3 separate regions of the Homo sapiens genome follow, and all the other regions are linked to region 1. Evidence: promoter capture Hi-C in 16 types of primary human blood cells and fetal thymus (Javierre and others, 2016). All regions are on one chromosome and are shown on one strand. The core of a region is centred on a gene start or on the middle of the fragment in contact, and the rest is flanking DNA. Distances in the headings are between cores, read along the strand shown. Region 1 holds the start of OR11H4 (olfactory receptor family 11 subfamily H member 4). Region 2 overlaps OR4K2 (olfactory receptor family 4 subfamily K member 2). Region 3 overlaps LOC124903278 (a long non-coding RNA gene).

Region 1 (4,056 bases), core at 1,056-3,555:
TACCCACAGGTGTGGAGGGGCAGGCCACCTCTCCAGACACTAGTGGCAGAACCAGACAAATTTATTTTCTTTCTTTTCCTTGGATGCTTGAGAAGACCTTTTCAGCTTTTGATTTGTTTTTCCAATGTTGATTATGGGTTTTCTAGCACAAGTTCATCAATTTTCTCTTATTTAGCACAAGTTGTTAGAAAAGACATTTTGAGGATAACTGAAAAAAATAAAATTGGTTTAGATGTTTGAACAAAACAAAATAGATTGACTGCTGCATGGAGATACAACTCCATGATAATATTTTAAAAACATCTCTAACGAACGGCAGTGTTTATTTTTATGTTTTTTACACATACTATACAAAAAGGAACTATCTTACTTTTTGTAATCAGATACCATGTAGATGAAATAAGGAAAATGATGTTTTCTATACAAAAATTTAGTTTATTTAGTGAGCTTTTTCGGTGGTGAAAACAAAGGGATTTTCTAAAAGAATCTGAGATGAAATGGGGCTTCATCTGCAATCCTATGTATTAGAATTTTGTTTACTGAAAGGAAGGTAAGGACATTTTCAAATATTTGACTAGGTATGTACTTTTCAGTAGCAACAAGTTTATGTATTTAAGAATTAAATAAAATACACAAATGTGTTTAAACAACAGTAATCTTATACTTGATTAATACTTAAAATGTGCTGATTAAGTCTTAAAAAAGTGGTAGTTTTGGCTGGGCGTAATGTCTTATGCCTATAGTTCCAGCAATTTGAGAGGCCAAAGTGGGTAGATCGCTGAAGTCAGGAGTTTGAGACCAGCTTGGCCAACATGGTGAAAACCCTTGTCTGCTAAAAATACAAAAATTAGCTGGGTGTGGTGGTGCGTGCCTGTAATCCCAGCTACTTGGGAGGCCAAGCAGAAGAATTGCTTGAACTCAGGAGGTGGAGGTTGCAGTGAGCCGAGATCACACCATTGCACTCCAGCCTGGGTGACAGAGCGAGACTCCACCTCAAAAAAAAAAAAAAAAGAAGGTAGTTTCAATATTGAGTTTCTTGTTAAGTTTAGATCTCTTGTCTTGTTTATTGCAGGTCACCAGTCATAACTTTGTCAGAAATGTAAAAGAAAAATGTGAAAGGCAACAAAGAACACAGAAGTTGAAGGAAGGATCAGGTATTCTTGGGAACGAAGATTTGAATCTCAACATCACTAGTTCTTTGGTAGTTTTTAAGGATGCATAAAAAGGGAAATTTGGAGCATCTGAGTTCTAAAGTTGTCCAGCTTTCCAATCAATGCTGAATTTAAAAGGCATTTGTTTACCATCTTCCTTGAATAAGGTGCTCAATAGGTGATTTCCAGATTGTTGTTTACGAAGCATAAATACATCCCTTTCTCTGCTATACACAGGTCAGAGAACAAGTCCAGGCTCAGACTTAAATTGGGAACCAGAATTGTGAGATCTGAGCCTCCCGCCCTTTGTTCTGAATGCCTGCTTGATGAGAATAACAGTTTAGGACATTCTCCATTATACACTGACAACTTTACACTACACTTCGTCTTTTCTACTACCCTACTCTGCAAGTGCTTTATTAGCAGCAACATTGTTTTTTCTGAAGCCTTTGGAGAAGTGTAGATAAGTAATGGAATGATCAAAAGCTGGGGAGCTTAATAGAAAGACCCGAGTAATCAATTTCAGAGTTTTCGCATTGACGGAATAAACTGTTTCCACAAAGTTTTATATAACACCACCCTCCAAAGTCTCCAAAACGCTGTCTGGGAATAGTTAGGTAATTAGAATAGAATCTTCATTATTTTATGACACAAACATACTGTTTCTCCTGATTTTTGAGATATATCATTATTTGAGCTACAATCCTAGGAGACCAGCTCTTTCTTTTTCTTTTTCTTTTTTTTTTCTGAGACAGTCTCGCTCTGTCGCCGAGGCTGGAGTGCAGTGGCGCGATCTCGGCTCACTGCAAGCTCCACCTCCCGGGTTCACGCCATTCTTCTGCCTCAGCCTCCTGAGTAGCTGGGACTATAGGCGCCCGCCATCACGCCCGGCTAATTTTTTGTATTTTTAGTAGAGACGGGGTTTCGCCGTGTTAGCCAGGATGGTCTGGATCTCCTGACCTCGTGATCGGACTGCCTCGGCCTCCCAAAGTGGTGGGATTACAGGCATGAGCCACCGCGCCCGGCCGAAACCAGCTCTTTCATGTACTGTACTCCTTTCCAGTACAAGAAACTACCAACCAACCAATCAACCCACCAGTCCACCTACCATAAGTGTGATAGCTTGATTTAATAGCCTTCTGTTGAATGCCCCTCACTTAGTATATTGTCTTCCCAGGTGTCCTGAGAGAAGGAACACACCACCTGATTATTCCTGGAAAGTAAGATTGTTTTCAGAAAGATGGTTGTTAATGACCATAAAATCATAGAATTAGAAGAAATGGTATAATGATCTAACTTCATTTTACAAATGAGGCTCAGAGAGGGGCATGACTTTTTACCCAATAAATATGTGTCCTGGATTCACATATGGAACTTTTATACTATACTATTATACTGCCTCCTTTGAGTCTTTGCAGAGAAACAGTGCCTAATCAGATTTATAAAGTCAAAGAGACTCTGTAGCATATCATAGCAGTGGTTTCTTACCTACAATCATGGCTTTTCTGGCTCAGTTTGGAGACAGCGGTGCGCACGGCAGAAATGAGGCAGAATTGAGCATAACCTCAGCATCAAGCATCTCCTCTTCACTGGCTCTGTTGAGGAAAACTCCAGGTGAGGGCATTATATGTGGTTTATTGCCCTGCCTTCATTCCTGGAGACTCCAGAGGCTTTTCTCAGAATTTGCTGAGAGGTTTAACATGCGAATCAGTATTACATCTATGTTTTCACTCAGGGATTACTGTAAAGCCCTGTGTTTCTCCCCATATGGTTTCAGTGGCTTACCCAAGTTTCCCTGGAGTGCGTTCTCTTTCCAACACTGGGGCTCATCTATAATATATACAATAGATAGTATATATATATTTATATATAATAGATAGTATATATATTTATATATAATATATATACTATATATAGATTATATATAATATATAATAAATATATATAATTTATATAATATATGTAATATATATAATATATATTTATAATAAATATATATAATGTAATATTATATATAATATTATATACTATATATTATATATAGTATATATTTATATACTATATAGTGTATGTTATACATAGTATATATTTATATAGTATATATATTTATATATTTATATAATTATATTTTTATATATTTATAAATTATATATTATATTTATATAGAATATATAATTATATATTATATATTTATTTATATATAAATATATAAATTTATATATTTATTTATATATAAATATATAAATTTATATATTATAAATTAAGAATTATATAATTATATAATTATAATTATATAATTTAGATAATTATACTATATATTTATATAGTATATATTTATGTAGCATATATATACCATCTATTATATATACTATATAAATATACATAGTATATATTTATATATAATATATATTATATATAATATATATAATATATATAATATGTATATAATATGTATTATATATAATATATAATATATTATGTATAATACGTATTATATATAATATATAATATATTATATATAATATGTAATATATTTATATATATAATATGTAATATATAATATATTCTATATTATATATAATATATTCTATATTATATATAATATATTCTATATTATATATAATATATTCTATATTATATATAATATATTCTATATTATATATATAGTATATATATAGTATATATATATATATAGTATATATACTATATATAATATAGTATAAATAGTATATATACTATATATACTATATAGTATGTATAGTATATATAGTATATATATTTATATTAAAGATATATACTATAAAGTATATATATTTATATTAAAGATATATACTATAAAGTATATATCTTTATATACTTTATATATATTATATATAATATATTATATATATTTGATAATATATAT
Region 2 (4,056 bases), core at 1,090-3,589, 360 kb after region 1:
CAGTTGCAGCCTCCAATGCATGTTCCTGTAAGTCTTTGAATTATTCACAAGCATTTAATACATTGTATTAAATCTGCTTAATTTACCCAATGGTTTCCGTTTTCTTAACTGTAGGACAACCAATATAAGTACACTCAAACAAGAAGAAAAAATTGATATAAATATATTATTATATAAAAACAAATTACTAATTAAATTGCTATTTCTAGTCTCAAACTAAAAAAAAAAATCTCTCCTTTAAATTTTCTTTAACAGGTGGCAAGTGAGCAAAGGGAGAAAAATCTGGCTTTTGTTGATGGCTTCAGATTCCTAGTACAGTTAAAACACAAAGAAAAAAGGCGAATTAACAGTGGTCTTGCATTTAGTAGTCATAAAAAGGCTAATGGGGGAAAAAAACCTGGAGCCTCCAGCCCGAGAACATTTTTTAATTTAAAAAATAGGTATTCATCTCCTTATATTGGCAGTGTAAATTATCAGAGTAAAAAATAAAAATGAAACTATAGTATTTTAGTGCATACTAGATATTGGAATTTATTTGTTTGTTTTACAAAAATCAAAGAGAAAAAATAACATGTCAATTGAGTTATATTAGCAACAATAGAGACAGAATACATGAATCAATGATCCCAGTCACATTTCCAGTCTCATTTGAGTGTTGGTCCTACACGCTCCAGAATAATTTGTGCATATTTACCTCATGGTGTAACCAAGAGCATTAAAAATAATTCCAAACAACAAAGCACAACAGAAACTTATAAACCAAAAAACTATCAAGTTGCTTAGCGGATTTCATTGGCATCTGAGAGTACATGCAAGAAGTTCACATGAATTAGATTTCCCTGGCTGTTTTCTTCTCCCCGTTTTTCAATTGACATATACATCCAAAAATCATGCAAAATAATATCAGGGAAAGAATAGGGAAATAGGAGGATTACTCCAACTCTCTCAACAAATTTTGCTATAACTGAGTTGTTTAAAAACTCACATGTAGAGAATAGATTCACTGGTAGTTTTTTAAATTTGAAAATACTTTCATAAGGAGTCTGGATATGCACAAATAACAGCATTTTACCAAGAACTTCTATATAGCAGCATAATCCAGTGATCACATTATCCTAAACCCTTATCAATGCAGAAAAATACTTCACATAAGACAGCTCATATAATACAAAACTTCATCTATCTACTAATCTATCCATCTGCCTATCTCTTCACCTTAATAATATGAGTCAAACATCATTCTTATTCTGACAACAATTGTAATGTGAATTCATCCTAAAATCAATAAACCAATTTAATATTTATTCATTGTAAAGAAGCAATAGCATAATGATTAAGCAACAACTTGATACTTCTCTTGATTAATGACAGTTGTGAACAGACAGAAAAACAAGTTTCCAGAAGCTTTAATTAATGTAAGAACCAGTGTAATTTTCTAGTGGAAGTTACTTTTAATTTTTCAAATTAATACTGACACACATATACAGACATGAATATTTAAAACATATAAATGAAAATTTACCTTTTAAATTAAACAAGTCAAGTGTTAGCTCAAGAGACTATCAAGTCCCATAAACAAAGATATCCAGAGGTTATCACCCAGAATGATACAATGACTAACATTTATTGACAACCATATGCTTCATATTATTTGCTTCTTTTATGCCTCAAATAACTCTGTGGTGTAGAGACCACTATTATCTCCTTTAACATATGTAGAAACTGAGGCTAAGAGGTATTAAGTACTTAGCTTAAGTTTACACCACTAGTAGTAGAAGTAGTATTAAACACTGTTTAAAAAAAAAAAAGATACCAGAGTCTAAGACTTTTAAAACTACACATTAGACTTCAGATTCTGCAGAGCCTTTTAATGCAGGGGTGTCCAAAGTTTTGGCTTCTCTGGGCCACATTGGAAGAAGAATTGTGTTGGGCCACACATAAAATACACTGATACTAAAGATAGCTGATGAGCTTTACAAAAAAATCACAAGAAAATCTTATAATGTTTCAAGAAAGCTTATGAATTTGTGTTGGGCTGAATTTAAAGCCATCTCCTGAGCCGCATGCAACCTGCAGGTCATGGGTTGGACAAGCTAGGCTTAAAGCTTATACAGTTTGAGGACACCTGTTTCAGGAAAAAAAAATCGAAATAACTAATAAAAGGTTGTTAGTTTCCATTCTAGGGCCTTCGAGGAAATCCATGCAAAGGAGGAGTTATAAAACCTAAGCTTTACAAGCTTTATGGTAAATCCACCATCATTATACCATATAGTATTCTAAAAGTTTTCTTAAGCATTTTTAGAAACAAACATAATTTGTAGTTTTTATTGCTATTACATATATCCAGTTCCTTCACATATTAAAATTTACACTTTATCTGTTTTTATCTATACCTGATTTTTAACAGTTTTTCCATCTGCATTCAATTGTTGTCAAGCTTCACAGCTTCCTAAACACGTAGAGGAAGATGAAGTTGCTTGTCAACACACTCTTCTTATAAATGCTCCAGAACTCCCTCAGTTGTGTTATTGCAGATAGTGCAGATCACTTAAAATTATACTTGCCTGCTTATCTTGTATTCTCTGCAGAACATTATCTCTGTCTCTGGAAACTCTGGTGGCAGCTGGCACCATCCTTACTATTGCTTAACGAGTCCATGGCCATGTCACTGCAGTTATCCTTGGTGAAAGAGTGTCAGCATCTTGTCTAAGAGATATATCGATAAAACCAACCACCATGAGTCCTAAAGTCCTAACTAAGATTTTTAAGTGTTTATATAACATGCAGAGGTACCATGAATATTGACTCCTCACACTAAGCCACCGAGAAATGTGATAGTTCCATTTATATATGTAAGCCCTCCAAAGGCTTTCTGTAATCCTTTTTATTATCAGCCACAGAATTTTACTATCAATCCAACTACTTAATCTCATTATTGACTTGCCTTATAGAGTTGTCTGCTGATCAGCTACACCTTTGAGGGTATTTTGGCAAATGTTCTTGAGTTTTAGAATTCTCCACAAAAGCACAGAAAATCAATAGCGTCTCTTCCAAAAGATTCCACAGTTTTATATTGCAAAAAGCAGCACAGTTTTGAAAATATTCCCTGGACAAAGAAATATGTCAAGTAAAAGAATTATTTCTAGCATTTTTAAGCACCAGCTAAAACATTCTACATAAACGAAGTCCTTGAATATGAACATATTTGTACATATAACTGCAACCAAGAGAAAGTTCACACTCAAAACCTAAATTGGCCTATTTGTATCCCTATTTAAAATAGAATTATGCTAATCTTGTGCTTACAGAAGCATGTTTTATTTTATGTTAATACTGTAGACGTTATTATCTAATAATTTCAAAACTGCTCAGGCTTTAAACACAGTATCACAGACTTTCAAGCTGTAAGTTTTTTCCTTATTTGCTTAGTACATTAATGAAGAAATAAAACACAAACTGATGAAGAAAAAATAAATTCCTTTTATAACTTGGTTTAATATGAACATCTAAGGATTTTCTGTTTTAATTATCTTTCATAAATGATAATTAATGCATTTCATTTGTTTTCTCCATTTACTCAATCATACCAGAAAATAACAACTTGATATTATCAAATACTGTGGTTGCAACATATCTTTCCCTTTGTGGATACATGTTGGATCATATATAAGACACTATATTTTATCAATATCATTTAGAAAATTCTAAATAAGAGTTAACTCATGAATGTTTGCCATCATTTAAAGATGATTTGCAAAGTAGGGTATACACAATTATTTTTCCTCTTTCAATACTTGCAATTCCAGTTAGTACCAGCAGGTGGTAGTAATACTTTGTATACATTAAAGCTAATATTGAACCTACCAGATTTATTTATAACAGTAATAAAACCTATTTGTGTACAAAAACATACTTATTACATTGACAATGTATTACTAAATGCAGATTCATTATTTTTACATCCAAATATTTCAAGAAAAAAATAACCAAAATGGAAAGCAATATAACACTTTAAAATGAAAGCATGGACTCCCCATAAATTCAACTGTTATAAAC
Region 3 (4,056 bases), core at 1,134-3,633, 340 kb after region 1:
GTTGAAGAAGACGCCCGCAATGGCAGACCATCCATATCAATTTGTGAGCAAAAAATTCATGTTGTTCAGCCCTAATTGAAGTGGACTGATTATTAACCGCACAAACAATAGTCAACACTGTAAGCATCTCAAGTGGTTCAGCTTACACAACTCCGACTGAAAAATTAAAGTTGAGCAATCATATTGCCCAATGGGTGTCAAAACCATTGTGCCCAGATCAGCTGCAGATGAGAGCAGAGCTTTCAATGGCAATTTTAAACAAGTATATATTAGTAGGTTATTGCATTACTGTAAAGCAATACCTGAGACTGGGTAATTAATTTTAAAAAGAAGTTTAATTGGCTCATGGTTCTGCAGGCTGTACAAACATAGCATAAGCATCTGCTCAGCTTCTAGTAAGAACTTCAGGAAGCTTACAACCACGGCAAAAGGTAAAGGGGAAGCAGGCACATCGCATTGTGAGAGCAGAAGCAAGGGGAGCAGGAAGATGCCACATGCTTTTGAACAACCAGTTCTCGTGGGAACCGACTCATTACCAAATGGATGGTGCTAAAGCCATGCATAAGGGACCCGCCCCCATGATCTAAACACCTCCCACCAAGCACCACCTCCGACACTGGGGATCACATTTCGACATGAGATCTGGGGGGGAAAAATATGTAAACCATATCATTCTACCCCTGGCCCTCCCAATCTCATGTCTTTTTCACATCACAAAATAATCATCTCTTACTAACAGTCCCCCAACGTCTTAACTCGTTCCAATATCAAATCCAAAGTCTTAAGTCTCATCTGAGACTCATCTCCTTTCACCTATGAGCCTCTAAAATCAAAAGAAGTTATTTACTCCCAAGCTCTAATAGTAGTACAAGCATTAGGTAAACATTACTATTCTGAAAGAGAAAAATTGGCTAAAAGAAAAGGATAATAGGTCCCATGCAAGTCTGAAAACCAGCAGGGCAGTCATTAAATATGAAAGCTCCAAAATAATCTCCTTTGACTCCATTTCCCACATCCAGAACATATTGATGCAAAGGGTGGACTCTTAAGGCCTTGAGAAACTCTGCCTATGTAGCCTTGCAGGTTGCAGTCCCCATGGCTGCTCTCACAAGTTGGAGTTAAGTGCCTGTGGTTTTTCCAGGCACAGTGTGCAAGCTGCAGGTGAATTGACCATTCTGGGGTCTAGAGAGTGGTGTCCCCCCTCCCACAGCTCCACTAGGCAGTGCCCCAGTGGGGACTCTGTGTGGGGACTCCAACCCCACATTGCCCCCTCAGCATTGCCCCGGTAAAGGTTCCCTGTGAAGTCTCCTCCCCTGTGGCAAGCTTCTGCCTGGGAATAGAGGCTTCCTCATATACCCCCTGAAACACAGGTGGAAGCTGCCAAACCTTTTTCACCCTTGCCACAGTATTCTTCTGTGTACATGCAGGATTAACACCACATAGAAGGCACCAAGGATTACAGCTTGCACCCTGTGAAGGAGCAGCCCAAGCTGTACCTGGGACCCTTTGAACTGCGGCTGGAACTGAAGCAGCCGGAATGTGGGAGCAGTGTCTTGAGGCTGAGCAGAGCAGTGCCATCTTGGGCCTGGCCCCTGAAATCGTTCTTTCCTCCTAAGCCTCTGTCCCTATGATGGGAGGGGCTGTCTCCAAGATCTCTGAAATAAATACATTTGGAGCCTTTTTCCCATTGTCTTGAGTATTGGCACTTGGCTGCCCTTTAGTCATGCTAGTCTCTCTAGCAAGTGATTGCCCTACAGCCTGCTTGGATTGGATTCTTTCTCTGCCACATGTCCAGGCTAAAAATATTTCAGAGTTTTACACTCTGCTTCCCTTTTAAATACATCTAAATTTATTTCTTTTTTCTCATATCTGACCATAGGCTGTTATAAGCAACCAGGCCACATCTTGAATGTTTTACTACTTAGAAATTTCTTCCATTAGATACCCTAAGTAATCACTCTTAAGTTAAAACTTCCACAGATCCCTAGAACATGAACACAATGCAAACAAGTTCTTTGCTATGGTGTAACATGAGTGACCTTTACTCCAGTTCCCCAAAACTCTCATTTCTATCTGAGACCTCATCAGTGTGGTCTTCACTGTCCATATTTCTATTAGTATCTTGGTCACAACTATTTAACCAGTCTCTAAGAAGTTCCAAACTTTCCTTCATCTTCCTGTCTTCTTCAGAGCCCTCCAAACTTTTTCAAACTTTGCCCATTATCCAGTTCCAAAGCTACTTCTACATTTTCAAGTATCCTTATAGCAACGTCCCACTCCTCATTACCAATTTTGTATTAGGTCATTCTTGAATTGCTATAAGGAAATACCTGAGACTGGGTAATTTATAAAGAAAAGGGGCTTAATTGATCACAGTTCCTTAACTGGTAGGAAGAATGGTGCCAGCATCTGCTTCTGATGAGGGCCTCAGGAGCTTACAATCATGACAGAGGACAAGTGGGGAGAAAGTGCATCACATGGCAAAAACAGGAGCAAGAAAGAGAAAGAGGAGTCTCAGATTCTTAAACAACCAGATCTCACTGAACGAAAACTCACTTATCATCAAGGGGATGCTACTAAGACATTCATGAGGGACTCACCTCCTGATTCAATCACCTCCAACCAAGCCCTACCTCCAACATTGGAAATCACATTTAGACATGAGATTTGGAGGGGACAAACATCCAAACTATATCAAGTGGGATCAAGATCCTGAAATATTTCTTTGAAGAATTGTAACAGAACATGAAACATGGCTTTACCAGTATGATCCCAAAGACACAGCACAATCAAAAGAATGACTACCAAGAGATAGTATTGGTACAATCAAAGTTGTCCAGTCAAAAACAAAGGTTATGGCAACAGAATTTTTGGATTCTCAAGGAATTTTGTTTGTTGACTTTCTGAGGGGGGGGGGCAAAGAATGGTAACATCTGTTTATTATAACAGTGTTTTGAGAAAGCCATGCTTTAGCAGCAAAATGCACAGGAAAGCCTGAACAGAGAGTCTTTCTTCACCATGCCAATCCTCTTACTCATTCTTCTCAGGAACCAAGAGCAATTTTGTGAGGGTTTTGATGGGGAATTTTAAGAACTTCTGGTTTAAAAGTAGAACTACACTGAAATATAATTTTTCATATATTACATTGACAAAAATCTAAAATTTCAATGTACTCTCTTGAGAAGTCTATGAGGTACTCATATATATGAGGTACTCTCATATAAATGAGAATGCAATAAAAAGGAAGTGTATTTGGCAATGTCTACAAAATATGTGTGCAATTGACCCTTGTACTTAGCAATTTTACTTGAAACCATAGGAAAAAAGAAAAGACTAGACATATGTTGATAACTATGAAACCTGGGTATAAATACACAGATGGGAGCATGTGAGCACATTATCATCTTTTGTATATATTTTAAACGTTCAAATTAGGAAGCTTAAAAAATAACTTTTATTCTTAACTACAATTATGCCTTCTGTCATGGCTTACTTGTCCTGTTACAAGCTTTTTGTGTTCAATGCCTGGTTAATTTGAAATCACTTTGTAACAGCACATAACTGCATTTCTTCATTGAATGATCAAGGAACTCTAGTTTACATATACTAAACTAGGAGTTGGAAATTCATTGAGGTACAAGATAGCAGGTCCTGACTTTATAGAATTTATATTCTAAGGCAGAAAGCACATACCTTGACAAATAATTAAAGTAAAATTATACTTGTTTTTTTTCATAGGGGAAGTAGAGGGTGGTATGGAAGGTTTTATTATATTTTAAAAATGTGTGGAAGGTCTCTGCTTATACATAAAGAGAGTCAGATTTAGCCAGGTTAAATGTATGATTATGTTTCTAGACAAGGAAGTTTTAAGCAGAGGGAAAAAAAAAAACAGTATCTGTATGTCAAGAGGTAAAAGTTATTTGGTGAGAGGTGCAAAGTTTAAAAACTAGAACAAATATAGCTTAAATCTAGAGTACATAAGATTTATCTAGCTTAAAAATATTACATATATACCCAAAGGACTATAAATCATGTTGCTATAAAGACACATGCACA

The links. Contacts are between HindIII fragments. The CHiCAGO score rates a contact against its expected background, and 5 or more counts as called.
Region 2: a contact is called between a fragment that was not itself captured here and the fragment with the promoter of OR11H4 in region 1, in 1 of 17 cell types (erythroblasts). The highest score is 5.1, in erythroblasts.
Region 3: a contact is called between a fragment that was not itself captured here and the fragment with the promoter of OR11H4 in region 1, in 1 of 17 cell types (erythroblasts). The highest score is 6.1, in erythroblasts.

Annotation. Positions count from the first base shown.
Region 1 is chr14:20,237,535-20,241,590 of GRCh38, reverse strand. OR11H4 (olfactory receptor family 11 subfamily H member 4) reads right to left here and starts at 2,305. Exons shown (of 2, transcript NM_001004479.2): 1 at 2,260-2,305. The HindIII fragment of the contact is 16,826 bases long and covers 1-4,056 here.
Region 2 is chr14:19,877,992-19,882,047 of GRCh38, reverse strand. It overlaps OR4K2 (olfactory receptor family 4 subfamily K member 2), which reads right to left. Exons shown (of 2, transcript NM_001005501.2): 2 at 1-4,056. Among named protein-coding and RNA genes, the nearest start is that of OR4K2, 4.9 kb to the right of the region's middle. The HindIII fragment of the contact is 200 bases long and covers 2,240-2,439 here.
Region 3 is chr14:19,898,710-19,902,765 of GRCh38, reverse strand. It overlaps LOC124903278 (a long non-coding RNA gene), which reads left to right. Exons shown (of 4, transcript XR_007064055.1): 4 at 1-305. Among named protein-coding and RNA genes, the nearest start is that of OR4K5, 20 kb to the left of the region's middle. The HindIII fragment of the contact is 2,116 bases long and covers 1,326-3,441 here.